Regions from separate parts of the Homo sapiens genome. Here region 2 is linked to region 1. Evidence: promoter capture Hi-C in 16 types of primary human blood cells and fetal thymus (Javierre and others, 2016). All regions are on one chromosome and are shown on one strand. The core of a region is centred on a gene start or on the middle of the fragment in contact, and the rest is flanking DNA. Distances in the headings are between cores, read along the strand shown. Region 1 holds the start of CDHR1 (cadherin related family member 1). Region 2 overlaps CCSER2 (coiled-coil serine rich protein 2).

What was found. Contacts are between HindIII fragments. The CHiCAGO score rates a contact against its expected background, and 5 or more counts as called.
Region 2: a fragment that was not itself captured here is called in contact with the fragment with the promoter of CDHR1 in region 1 in 1 of 17 cell types (neutrophils); the score reaches 6.1 in neutrophils.

Annotation. Positions count from the first base shown.
Region 1 is chr10:84,193,092-84,197,925 of GRCh38, reverse strand. It overlaps CDHR1 (cadherin related family member 1), which reads right to left and starts at 3,389. Exons shown (of 17, transcript NM_033100.4): 1 at 3,111-3,389; 2 at 2,337-2,432; 3 at 1,276-1,421; 4 at 90-140. The coding sequence starts at 3,165. RefSeq lists silencers at 3,174-3,293, 3,364-3,493. The HindIII fragment of the contact is 5,936 bases long and covers 1-4,834 here.
Region 2 is chr10:84,512,224-84,519,088 of GRCh38, reverse strand. CCSER2 (coiled-coil serine rich protein 2) reads right to left here. Exons shown (of 10, transcript NM_001284240.2): 10 at 572-5,640. The coding sequence ends at 4,822. Among named protein-coding and RNA genes, the nearest start is that of CCSER2, 190 kb to the right of the region's middle. RefSeq lists an enhancer at 4,507-4,676 and a silencer at 6,410-6,610. The HindIII fragment of the contact is 3,492 bases long and covers 825-4,316 here.

The DNA of each region.
Region 1 (4,834 bases), core at 2,140-4,639:
TGAAGGCTTGGGGAGGAATCGTGCCAGCCTCACCCTTCTCAGGCCCAAATACTGCAGGCTGCCAGGGACTGCCTTGGACGTGCACTCACCAGATTCAGGCCATCAGAAATGCTGATGATGGCTTCAATCTCATCTTCCCTCTGTGAAGCACAGGGACTGAGTGAGTGTCCAGGAGTCTGACACGCCATAGGACCCCTGTGGCTGGATGGAGCTCTCCCTGCCCCACGCACCCATCAGAGGAGGTCTGGGCGTGCCAATAGATCCCTGGAGCAGGGTAAGTGGTGGTGACAGCATGCCTGGCAGAGTAGAAAGCTGCCTCCCCCCATGCTTGAGACCTTATTTTGGGACTTTTGTGTCCGGGGTTCTTATAAACTCAGAGACCCAGAGGGTCTGTTGGGGCTCCAACAGAAAATACTCTCCTGCCACAGTGAGGCGAGATGTCGACCTTAGTGTGCTCAAGGTCCCATAAAGACTTTTCCTCTTTCTTTTCCCTTTTCTCCCCTTTTCTCTCCACACCTCTCCACATTCCAGGGCTCTGCAGAGGCTCACATCCATGGTGTCTCAGTGCTCCCAGGATATGGTGAGACCTCAATGGGGAAGGGTATCGGATGTTGCCAGATCCCGCGGGTGCCAGGGAGTGGGGTACTGGCAGCACAGTCAGGCTCCACTGCTGTGTCCCCACAGCAGTCCCTGAGACCTCCCTTTCCTTTCTCTACCCTGTCCTGCAGCTAGTGGAGGCTGTCACGAGCTGGCAGCATCCCCACAGCTGAGGTCCAGTTAGCCACACACCAGGCTGCTATGCGGTCTGAAAAAGCCCATGCCCTGTTGCCTGCAAGTTCTCAAGTGTGTAGAGTGGAGGAGCTCTGCCAAACTCAGACTCACTGCCAACCACCCTTTCCAGCCTTGACCTGCTCTGAGTTCCTGTGCCTCTCCCAGGACAGGCTTGAAAAATCACTTTGTGAGGTTTCTTTCAGAAACCTCAAAGTGCAAACGGATTTATTTTTAATGGAACATGCTTAAAAGATTAGCAGGGCTGGCAGGTGCTCGTTAAAGGAGCCCACTCTTCGCTCTGTGTGAAGGAGGAGCATGAAAGTAAAGCCCACTCTGCTGATGGGAAGTGGCCCAGAGATCTCACAGAGTGGATGTGCCTGGGGTGTGCCCCCTCATCCCCTACTCTGTGGAGAGGTTCTAACCAATGTGCTCCAGGGGAACTTCAGCCCACCGAGGTCTGTCTACAGGCAGTGGCCCCGCAGCACTCCCCACACCTCCCCATACCTCTCTGTCCAGCTCTTCAACCAGGGTGATGTTTCCAAAAGTGGGGTCAACAGAAAAGACGCTTCTAGTGCTGGGGTCAAAGCTGATGTGGTAGGAGATGGGGTCTCCCTCAGGGTCTGTCCCATTCAGGGTGTATACGTGAGAGCCTGGAAGGAAACACAGTGGAGAGACATAGAATCTGAGACCCAACTTTTCCTAAAAGTGGCAGATGCTCAGGACCAACGATTCAGCTGTTTATAAAGTGACTATTCAACTCAGTGCCAAAGGTACTGCCCTGAACTTGGTGCTCATTGCTGGCCTCACCCCTGCTGGCTGCTTCCCTCTTTGTATGTTTATTCTTCACAGCGGGTGGTTGTGATGATCAGCCACTTTCCAGATTGTAATCTATAACACGGGTTACAGAGCAGGTGCAGGTCTGCCGTGCCTAACTGTAGTGCCTATGTTCTGCTCAGCCTGGTAATAACTCCTCTCTCAGGATCCAAGATTGAGGGGCTCCTGGGTACAGGGAAGGGGAAATGGGAGCAGCCATTAAGGCAGGAGGGGTGACCCACAGTGCACCACTGTCCCCGATGCCTGGACCTGGTTCTGCAGGGATTTCTGAGCCAGGTGCCTACTTTGCTCTGCTCTCCCTTTTCCCCGGGTTCCCACTACCCACAAAGTGAGGGAGAAGGAGTGTGAAATCTCCCCTTTCTCCTCCCCTCTCTCTGCATATCTCAGCAAGTTGGATGTTCTTAGGCCGTTTTAAAGCCTAGAGACCTGGGGCTCAGGGAGGTAAATACATTTGTTCAAGGTCACACAGCCATAAGGGGCAGCTGTAGCTGCCTGCCTCGCGGGGCGACCCTGTCTGTGGGGGGGAGCCCTGGTCTCCAGGACTGGCCAGACTTAAGTCGCCATGGCAGCAATGACCTTCTTTCCTGCCATTGCCCAGGGGAATTCGGAGAGCAAACAAGGAGCCCCCGGGCGCGCGCAGCAACTTGGGTGGTGCCTGGGGCACTTTGTGTTCTAAGTCTGCCTGCACCCCTCAGGGAGACCTATCGGGAGCAGGTGCCAGGGCTACTCACCTACAGGGGTGTCCTCTGGGAGGCTGAACAGAGCCATGTTTCCGTTGGTGCTGCCGACCCCGTTGTCGAAGAAGTGCGGGGCGAAGTTGGCCTGAGCTGGAAAAAGAACACAGAACAGACGGACACCCAGGCAAAGGACACCCAGACACCAGGAGGGAGCTTCGCACCAGCGCGGTCCCGCGTCAGGCCCAGCTACTGGGCAGGAGGGCGCTCCGCCTCCCCAACCCAAGTGCACCGAGGGACCCCACTGGGGCGCCGCCCAGAGGATGCCCCTGACCCCCACTCCGCCCCCGGTGGGCTCGGGCTTGTCAGGGACACGTAGCATGTGGGCGCTTAGAACCCAGGTAGCAATCCAACCCCTCCTTCATCAATGGGCAGATTGCACCCGCGCTCGGAGAGGGGCAGTGCCCCAGCCCAGCCAAGGTCAAGCCGCGAGTCAGGGCACTATCTCCTGCCCCACGCAGCATCGGAGCTGCCACCAAGCCTACAGCTCTGGTTCCCAGCAAGCGGAGAGCAGCGGGGGTCCGGGCGCCAAACCCTGGGGCCCTAGGATGCCAGCTCTGGAGAAGCGCCCCGGAGCTCCCCACTACTCCGCTACCCCACTCCCCACTACCGAATGGGCCAGGAAGATGGAAGGACTTCTCCGCTCCCGTCCACCAGCCCGAGTCCCACTCTGGAAGTGGTCCAGGACCATGTCCCTCTGGCCACCTGGGTGACGCCAGCGCCCATCTCCCTCGCCATCCACGCGGCCAGCGCGGCCCAGCGGCCACTCACCCAAGCAGAGGCGCAGCAGCCCCAGGGCCAGGGCGGCCCACCGGCAGCGCCTCATGTCTCCGCCGGCGCGGAGTGTCGCCTGCCGCCGCCGAGACCGGGCGCAGGGGCACGGAGCATGCCCTGGGCCCGCGGGGAGGGCAGAGACCACAATGGGGGTAGCGGCGACTGCAGCCGCGGCGGGAGGGGGCACGGGGCGGGAGCGGCGGGTGGCGTGAGGGCGCTAAGAGGATGACACGGCTCGGATCTGCTCCTGCCGGCCGCCTGACGAGACCAATTAGCGGCGCAGAGCGGAGCGACAGGCTCCCAGCCGCGGGCGGGGGCAGGAGGGCGTGACAAGAGGACTCCCCGCCCGCCACGCCCCCTTTGCCGGCGGCCCCCAGTCCTGGACAGGAGGACACCATGGGGGACAGGAGTGTCTTTCCCCCAAGTTGTCCTGAGGCTTTCCCAGGGTACTTAAGTCCTGGTGGGGCTTGGGCTTCGCAGTTTTCTTTTCTCATCAACTTCCTCTGTGACTTTCAGGGGCTTAGCTGTCTTCTCTGAGCTAAGCATTCCAGAAGAAAAGTTAGTGGAGCGGCCGAGAGGGCCTTGCCTTAGCAGTCTAAGCAGGTTCTATAAGCCGCGTGAGACCAAAGGCAAAGAGAAAGGGTGATGGATGGGCAGCAGATGGTAAGGGGTTATCAGGACCCCCTCTCTGTGATCTCAACCCATTCCTGCCCTGTTCCCCAGGCTGGACCACCTCTCCCAAAGGGTCTGATCTGTGTGGTGGGCAGCAGGGAGGACCCTCAGGTGTCCACCAGGGTGAGAGGCAGTTCTGCTCCCCATTCCCAGTCAGTGCCCAGTCTGGGACCATGAAGGGGCAGCTGACCCACTCTTCAAACCTTCCAAGGAAGAGTGAAGGGCCTGAAGGCAGAGTTAAGCCCCATCTTAGGACAGACTTGCACAGAGCTGGCCAAGATAGATCTGAACTGCCCGAGAGGCACGAGATCTCATTCCTAGAGGGTATTTACACAAAGCAAGGCACTGCTATTGGGGTCCTGGATGCTGATAACTTGAAGACACAGGTAAGCCCAGGAACCTTTTTGGCTGCTGGTAAAGCTCCTTGGGCTTCCTCGTTCTCCTGCTCTGACACTGGAGGGTGCTTGGAAATGCAGCCTGTTTTCCTTTTCCTGGTTGGGCCATTTATGGGGGTACAGGTCACTTCAAGCCCAAGCCAGGCCACTTCCCAGGATGCCCTTGGGTGGATGTGTTCTCAGATAGAGGAGATCCCTCCTCTGTGTGCTCCTGGGAGAGGTCTCCACAGCTGAGGACTCAGCATTCCCCCCCTCCCCCTGCCAGGGGCCTTTGAGGGAACAGAGCACCCCCCATCCCTTGGTCTAGCCCTACATGATCTACTGTGAGCAAGGGTCAGGGATTTGCAGAGAAGAAGGAAGATGAATCAATGGTTTTAGAATGTGCAGCAGTTTTCAGGCCTAATTGGCCGAAACCCTTGTTGAGTCTCCTTAGGCTTGGCTCTTTTGCTGAAAAGACACACTTTAAATTGCACAGATGTTCTGAATCTGCCTCCCAAAGTGCTGGGACAAAGCTAAGGCAAGTATTCTGCAAGTCCCATATAGGGATGTGGAGACTGAGTCTTGCCGTGGATTTCCCAGGAGCCAGAGGCAGAGCCAAGGTTTCCTGGAGTAGATGTCTTGGTGGGCCGAGAAAAGCCAGCTCTCCCTGGGTCC
Region 2 (6,865 bases), core at 1,321-3,820, 320 kb before region 1:
CAGAATTCGTGTAAACATTTTGGATTAATAACATACCACTGCATCAACTTTTTTGTCTCTTATTACGGGACTATCGCATCTGACTAAACTGTAAAACTGAAAAAATATATATTCCTTACTCCTTTTGTTCCTAAAAATTATGTAAAATTTCACTAAACACCTTTCTTGCCTCAAGCTATTTTGTATACTGCTTAAAAACAATGACAAAATAATTAAAATTACAAGTGTTTTCTTCCTTGTACAGCATTCTAAATCCAAGGTGCTAATGTTTCTTGAAATGTCCATTAACCATTATCCCAATATTCTAAGATAAAGCAGGTATTTTATTACAATGGAAACGAAAGTACTAGATCTCTTACAGAATTTGTGAAGACACAACAACAAAATACTGATCAACTCCTACTCAATCAGGGCTTGGGGTGTCAAGATGTGTGTGAAGGCAGCATGTAAAATAAAGTATCAGAGTTGGGAAAAACATAAGCAAATGAACAGTATCTTAGATCTTTGTGGGAAAAAAGATATCAAAGAAAAAGCAAACTATGGGAGTCAATGTTGAGAAAGACAAGAGAACTTTTATAATTATGAACTTTATTTTTATTTACTATGCCAACATTTTCAGGAGAGACTTTACATCTGCTTTTTAGAATTCATTTTACAGGCAAATTCTAATATACAGTTTGTACTCTAAACTGACTTAAAATCAATGGGAAAAACAATACTGCAGATATTATTTTTGCTCTTTGTTAGTAATGACTTAGAGACCTTACATTCTCGGGTATTATTTTGTTAAGTAAACGCTTTACCAAGGAGAAAGTGGGTAAGCTTATTCCCAACAAGATTAAAACATGTATCTTCAGTTAATGACATAGTTGTAGATTGGTGCCCACCATCAGAATCATTTAATCAAAAGTACTCTCTCAAATTGCTGCAGCAAAAACTTAAAGGGAGATGTGAAAAATCACTAGAAAATAGAATTCAAGCATCAGAATTTAAAAAGGAACAAGGCCATCATCCCCAAGGAAAAACATCGGGTAGTACAGCTATAATTAATTTTCAAATGTGTGCTTAAGCATGCAAACATAACCACCCAAACGAATTTAAAAACACAAAAACTACTGGGTAAGATGGAAAGTAAATTGAAATGGTGCTGCAGCCTTATTGATCTTAATTGCAAGCCTGTTCGGTGATTTCAAAGTACATCCCCAGTGCCCTAGAGACCAGGAAACCAGTATGACAACTCTGCTCAGAAACCAAGAGTGCACCTCAGTGTCTGTAACACCATTTATGCTACAGGAACATTTGGAAGTGACAGCTGTAGGGGGATCACGCTCTCTCTGATGTACTGAGAAAAAAGTAAAATACTTATCGGAACAATGGAACATTCAAAGAAAACTTAGTGCTTTAATGGAAAAGTGACATGCTGGGAATATATTTCTGTGAACAGCTGTACTGATATCTTCAAACAGCAACAATTACAAATTTATTTCAACAAAGCCACACCCAATAGGAGGCAATTCGATATTTCAGGCACAACTTCAAGCAATTAAGCTCATTTAAAGTGCAAATCTGATATTTTCTTTCATATTCAGATTTTTACTTGTTAAAGTACTTAGTAAATTCTAATATATATATAAATACAATGAACAGTAGCCTATATGCCTGAAAATATTGCACAAATAAAAATGAGACTCCAAAAGAAAAATGTTAGATGGTCTCAGTTATTAGAAACAGTCTAAATGACATAACTCTATAATCCTTTAATGCCTTAAAATCATCTGCACCTGTACCAATAAACTCCTTAGGCCAAGCCTTCTTTTAAAAATTTGATATGCATCCCATTAACAGCCAAATATCAAAGTCTGAATACTCTACTAATTTCCTCTTTCACGAATGTGAAACTTAACAAACCCCATAAAATTTCTTCCTCAGGACTTAGAATTCATATACTGTAACTATCTTCATTGATACCACTAGAACTAAGACAATAAATGGTTTGTGGAGGAGGATTTGGCACAGAGTTGATTTACATTAATAGAAGCAATAAACACAGATCAAGCCAAATCTAAGATGATCTTTGATTATTCAGTAGAGTTACATCCTCACTTCCATTTCAGACTTAACATTTACTAAGAAGCAGACAAGCATGATATTCTTGCAGTTTTTAATGAAAACTGCAGGCAAATACTTTATGTCATGCAAGCATCCTAGATTTGTTTTCTTTTAATATATTATGCTTCATAAATATACGATAAGCCTATCTTCTAAAAGATTAAGACTCAACAAAGGTAGAGAAAAGTTGAGCTAATTGGTTAACATTTCTGCAAATCCATCAGGGAAGGAAAAAATAGAGAAAAATGGAGTAAATACATGGAGGAAAAAATAGAGAAAAATAAATTACTGGAGTCAACATTTTTATGTAATGGACAATAAAGACATTTCCCTCAGACTAGGGAATTAAAAATAAATTTAAAAATTTAGAACTTTTCCCTTAAGGATAAGGCCAACTCGTAAATAATGTTTCATAAGGGTCTAAACCAACTTCTAAATAAACCAAAAACCACTAAGTCACTGGTTTTACTTTAGGGGAATATAGTATGATTCACATATTTGCAACATGTGAGAACGGTTTTCTTTCTCCTTCAAAATGATAGAACATGTATGCCCACTTACAACTGCAGCCATCATGGGTCATCTCCATAACAAAGTGCTTTGCTGATTTGCCTGACTCTAACAGTATCTGGACTATGTGAAGAACGTTCTGAACTTCACTGCTTCTCCATCAGAAGTGCTGGTACATAAGAGTATGGTACAAGATTTGTCTTGCTCACCTCTTACCAAATCCAAGAATGGTTTCTATCCAGTGAATGGCAAATTCATCTGATAGGTAAGGGAATAATGGGTCAAAATGGTAGCAAACACTTCTTTCAAATTTCTACTAAAAGACTTGCTGTTGTTTTTCTTATAAAGGGGCAATTTCATCAACATACATCTTTTAAAGGAATCTCTAGAAATTTGAGTGACTTTTTGGCCATAATCCTGTTTGATATATTTTTGGTCAGCTGCTCAAAACAAACATTCTCCTTGTAAGGTTATCTATCTGAAAGATACTAATTCATTTAAAGCAGCTGCAGGTGAACAACCTAAAGATGACATGATTTGGGAGAAGAGGAAGGCAGATTTACTGAACTGACAAGTGACCCAAAGCATAATTAGGTTTGTGCACATGGTAGCATGGAGGTTCCACACCTACCTTCTACAGCGTATTAAAATAAGAATATTGTCTTTGAAACATCTTCTAGCACCTTTTTAATAAAACAAAATTTCCCATCTTCAATTCTATTTTTTTCCCAAATCTACCTTTAAAAAATTGTCTTTCAAAAATACACCATAGACGAGGTGGGTGGATCACTTGAGGTCAGGAGTTCGAGACCAGCCTGACCAACAAGGTGAAATCTCATCTCTACTAAAAATACAAAAAAATTAGCCAGGCATGGTGGCACATGCCTGTAGTCCCAGCTACTCAGGAGGCTGAGGCAGGAGAATCGCTTGAACCCGGGAGGCAGAAGTTGCAGTGAGCCGAGATTGCGCCACTGTAATCCAGCCTGGGCAATGGAGCAAGACTCTGTCTCAAAAAACAAACAGAAAAAAACAAAAAACACAGAAAAGGGAAACCTAGGAGACTGGAGATGGGGGAGGGGGAGAATATTATGAACTCCAGCTTTCTCAAGATAGTCTTATTTAAATTTGTTATTTTTCTCAAAATATTTTAACTTGTTTTGCTATAGAAAATAGTTTACAATCCCTATATATGGTATATTTATACCCCATCAAAGTTTTGTGCAAATGTTTCAAGTTCATTATTTCAGTCTTCAGATATTAGCAGAAAATCAATAAATATAAATATTACAATTAAAGACATAATGCTGTGGAACCTTAAAATGGCTATCATGGATCCACAAGCCTAAGGGTTCAAGCCTGAATTACCAGCAAAACTCTAGCACCAACATATGTTACAAATGAATACATCTTTAGGTACAGGTTTCAAGGTGTATCTCAAGCGCTCCAAAATTTACCCAGTAACAAATACAAACATAAATGGTATGTGTGTGTATATGTGTGTGTGCATGCACATGTGTTTGTAAAACAAGATGTAAAGGAATATATAACTGATTTATATGTAATAAGAAACACTTTCAGTCTGGGGAATTTGGGAAATGAATCAACAGTAACATTAGCTGACTGACCCTGGCAAGGAAAAATAAAACTTACATAGACTTTCCATTAAAAGCCTAATCTCCTTTATTCATCACAAAGCTTTTGCATAGACCTTTTAAATATACAAAACACTGGCCAGAACTCTGCTTACAGACTACCATCTTCCATTATCACCATATCTTTAGTTAAAATAGTAGCCATATTCACAGGAGAGACAAGTGAAAAGGGGTGAGGTTCTGACAACCACAATAAATACAGACCTTAATAGGACTAAACCAGCAAAGCACACTTCTTGCCTGCTCAGTAAAATATTATGAATTTTCTGACGTGGAGAGGGATGGATAACATGATTTGGGCCTTTGGCAGGCCTCTGAAATGGGTAAGCAAACTTTCGTGTTTACCTGAGATAATTATGCTCAAATGGCATGTACTTCAACCAGGATATAAAATGAAGGAGCCAAACTAGTAGAAGCTTCCACATTTTAATTTAAGATTTGCAGGCTTTCAATGGAACCTCCACCACAGTAGCAAGCTGCAAGCTGCACATAAAGCTATTACAGAAGAGATTGTTTTTAAGAAACAAATTGGCAGGTGATGGCTATGTACTTAATGTATCTTTGGTTTAGGAAGACGAGAATATCGATTAGAGGCCAAACAATCCCCAGAATGCAAATTGCCATTTGGATTCTGCATGATTTCTTTTCGTTGTGTTAGTGGCCTTGGGATGCTTGTCTTGGCCTGGAAGCTTTGAGGCTCTAGTTGGGGGCTGTTTGTTTGTTTTTGTTTGAAAGAGCCTGAGGGGGGGCGGAGCTTAGATGCTTTCAGATTCTGATTATTTGCAAGATTTGTTTGACTAGATGTTGGCTGAAGTTTTGCTGAATTACATGTTGTGATTATTGGTGACTTTTTACAAGTGGGAGTCCTACTTGGAGATGATTCAGAAACTGGAGGCGGTACCAAAGAACTCAATATGGATGGCTTTAAAAGCTGCAAGGACTTGGGCTGAGACATATAACCCACTGGCGGAGACTGATTTCTTCCAACTCTCTTAGCCTGGTCTACTGTACTTGACTCGGGAGGTGTCTGAAGAGAAGTGGGTATAAACTGCATGTCACTAATTTGATTGTTTGCCAAATGATAAGGCTCTTGAGCATTTACAGTAATGTTTAAGTTTGCTTCAGAAGGTGTACTCTTAGCCACATCCATTGTTAATTGTGGGCCTGATGAAAAAGGCTGCTCTTCCAAACCATAGTTGCTTTCTTGGTGCAAGACGTGTGTAAAGCTTTCTTCCGGATGTGCACCGCCCTGATGCATGTCTTGGATTGAGCATTCACTGCGGGCCTCGATACGTTGTGGCTTTATTAGTTTTCCCTGGGTGTGATCTGTGGGTCTGGGAAGGCTGCTGGAAGGCTGTAGTACTTGAGGCTGTTAAAATTAAAAACAACATTAGCAGCAAGTTCTTAGAAATTCCACCCAGATTTAATATAAATACCAATTAGGCTGTGTTGGTACTTATTATGGCTTTAATATGGAAAATATGTGGAGTTTCTTTTAATTAAAAAATGAACTGCAATATTCAAGCAAATTAGACACATACAAGAGTGATAATGCAAACAAAAAATGATACAGGCAGTAAACACTGAACAAGATCCAAAATTAAATGAGAAAAAGAAAACATTAAAGTACTAATTTATTATAGAAAAAATTCCTGCCATAATAGATTCATTAGGTATTTTAAACCTTAGAGCTTGACAGAATGATTCTACAGCTTTTGGTTTAACCTCCACAAAACATTCAGGTGTTAACGGTGACCTTCGGAATACTACTTACATTAAAGTTAAAAAAAAAAGTTGTACACCATGTTAACAAGTGTTGTTCTTCTGTCAAGAATGAAAAGCACCAGCAGATAAACAAGATTTAGAGTAAATCACTATATTCTCAGTTTATGTGAAATTCTATTTATTTAACAAATATAGGTCGAGACATTTAGCTAATGCTAACCTATTTTTAATATTCTTGTTGAAAAGTTTCCAAATAAAATGTTTCAAAGTTTATTTGTTCTGTCTCACTCCTATTATGGCTGACATGTGAAAAACAGATCTACCCTAATGAAAAGTAAACATTCATTTACTTAAATTTAGAATAATCAGCCTTTTGAATGATGGCTCAGAGTAAAACAAATGTGAAGTTGCCTCTAACTGCAACTAAAGAACAGAAGCCTATGACAAGGTTCTTAGGGTCTGTGTGCCTCACATGTACTTCCCTGAAGCTCATTGTGTAGTTATGTTTCAAAAACAATCAGAGGAACTATGCCATTTCCATGATTTGGGGGTATCCAGTAAAAAATACAAATCTGAAAGCTATCTTTCAATGGCCCAAATAGTTAAAATATATGGGCAGGGCCAACTGGGCCTGTCCTGATACAGGGGTATTTGCTACAAATGCATTATCTCTCTCCTCTCTCTCTCTCTCTCTCTCACACACACACACACACACACACACACACTGTTTAAATAATGTGGGCTAAAATGTCAAAAACTTTGGCAAAGGGCTTTACAACATGAAATTCAGAGGGCCATTTCTCACTAATAAGTTTTTTTTGCTATGCTAATCCACAAATAAATCTACATAGTAGCTCTAATTTCCCCAA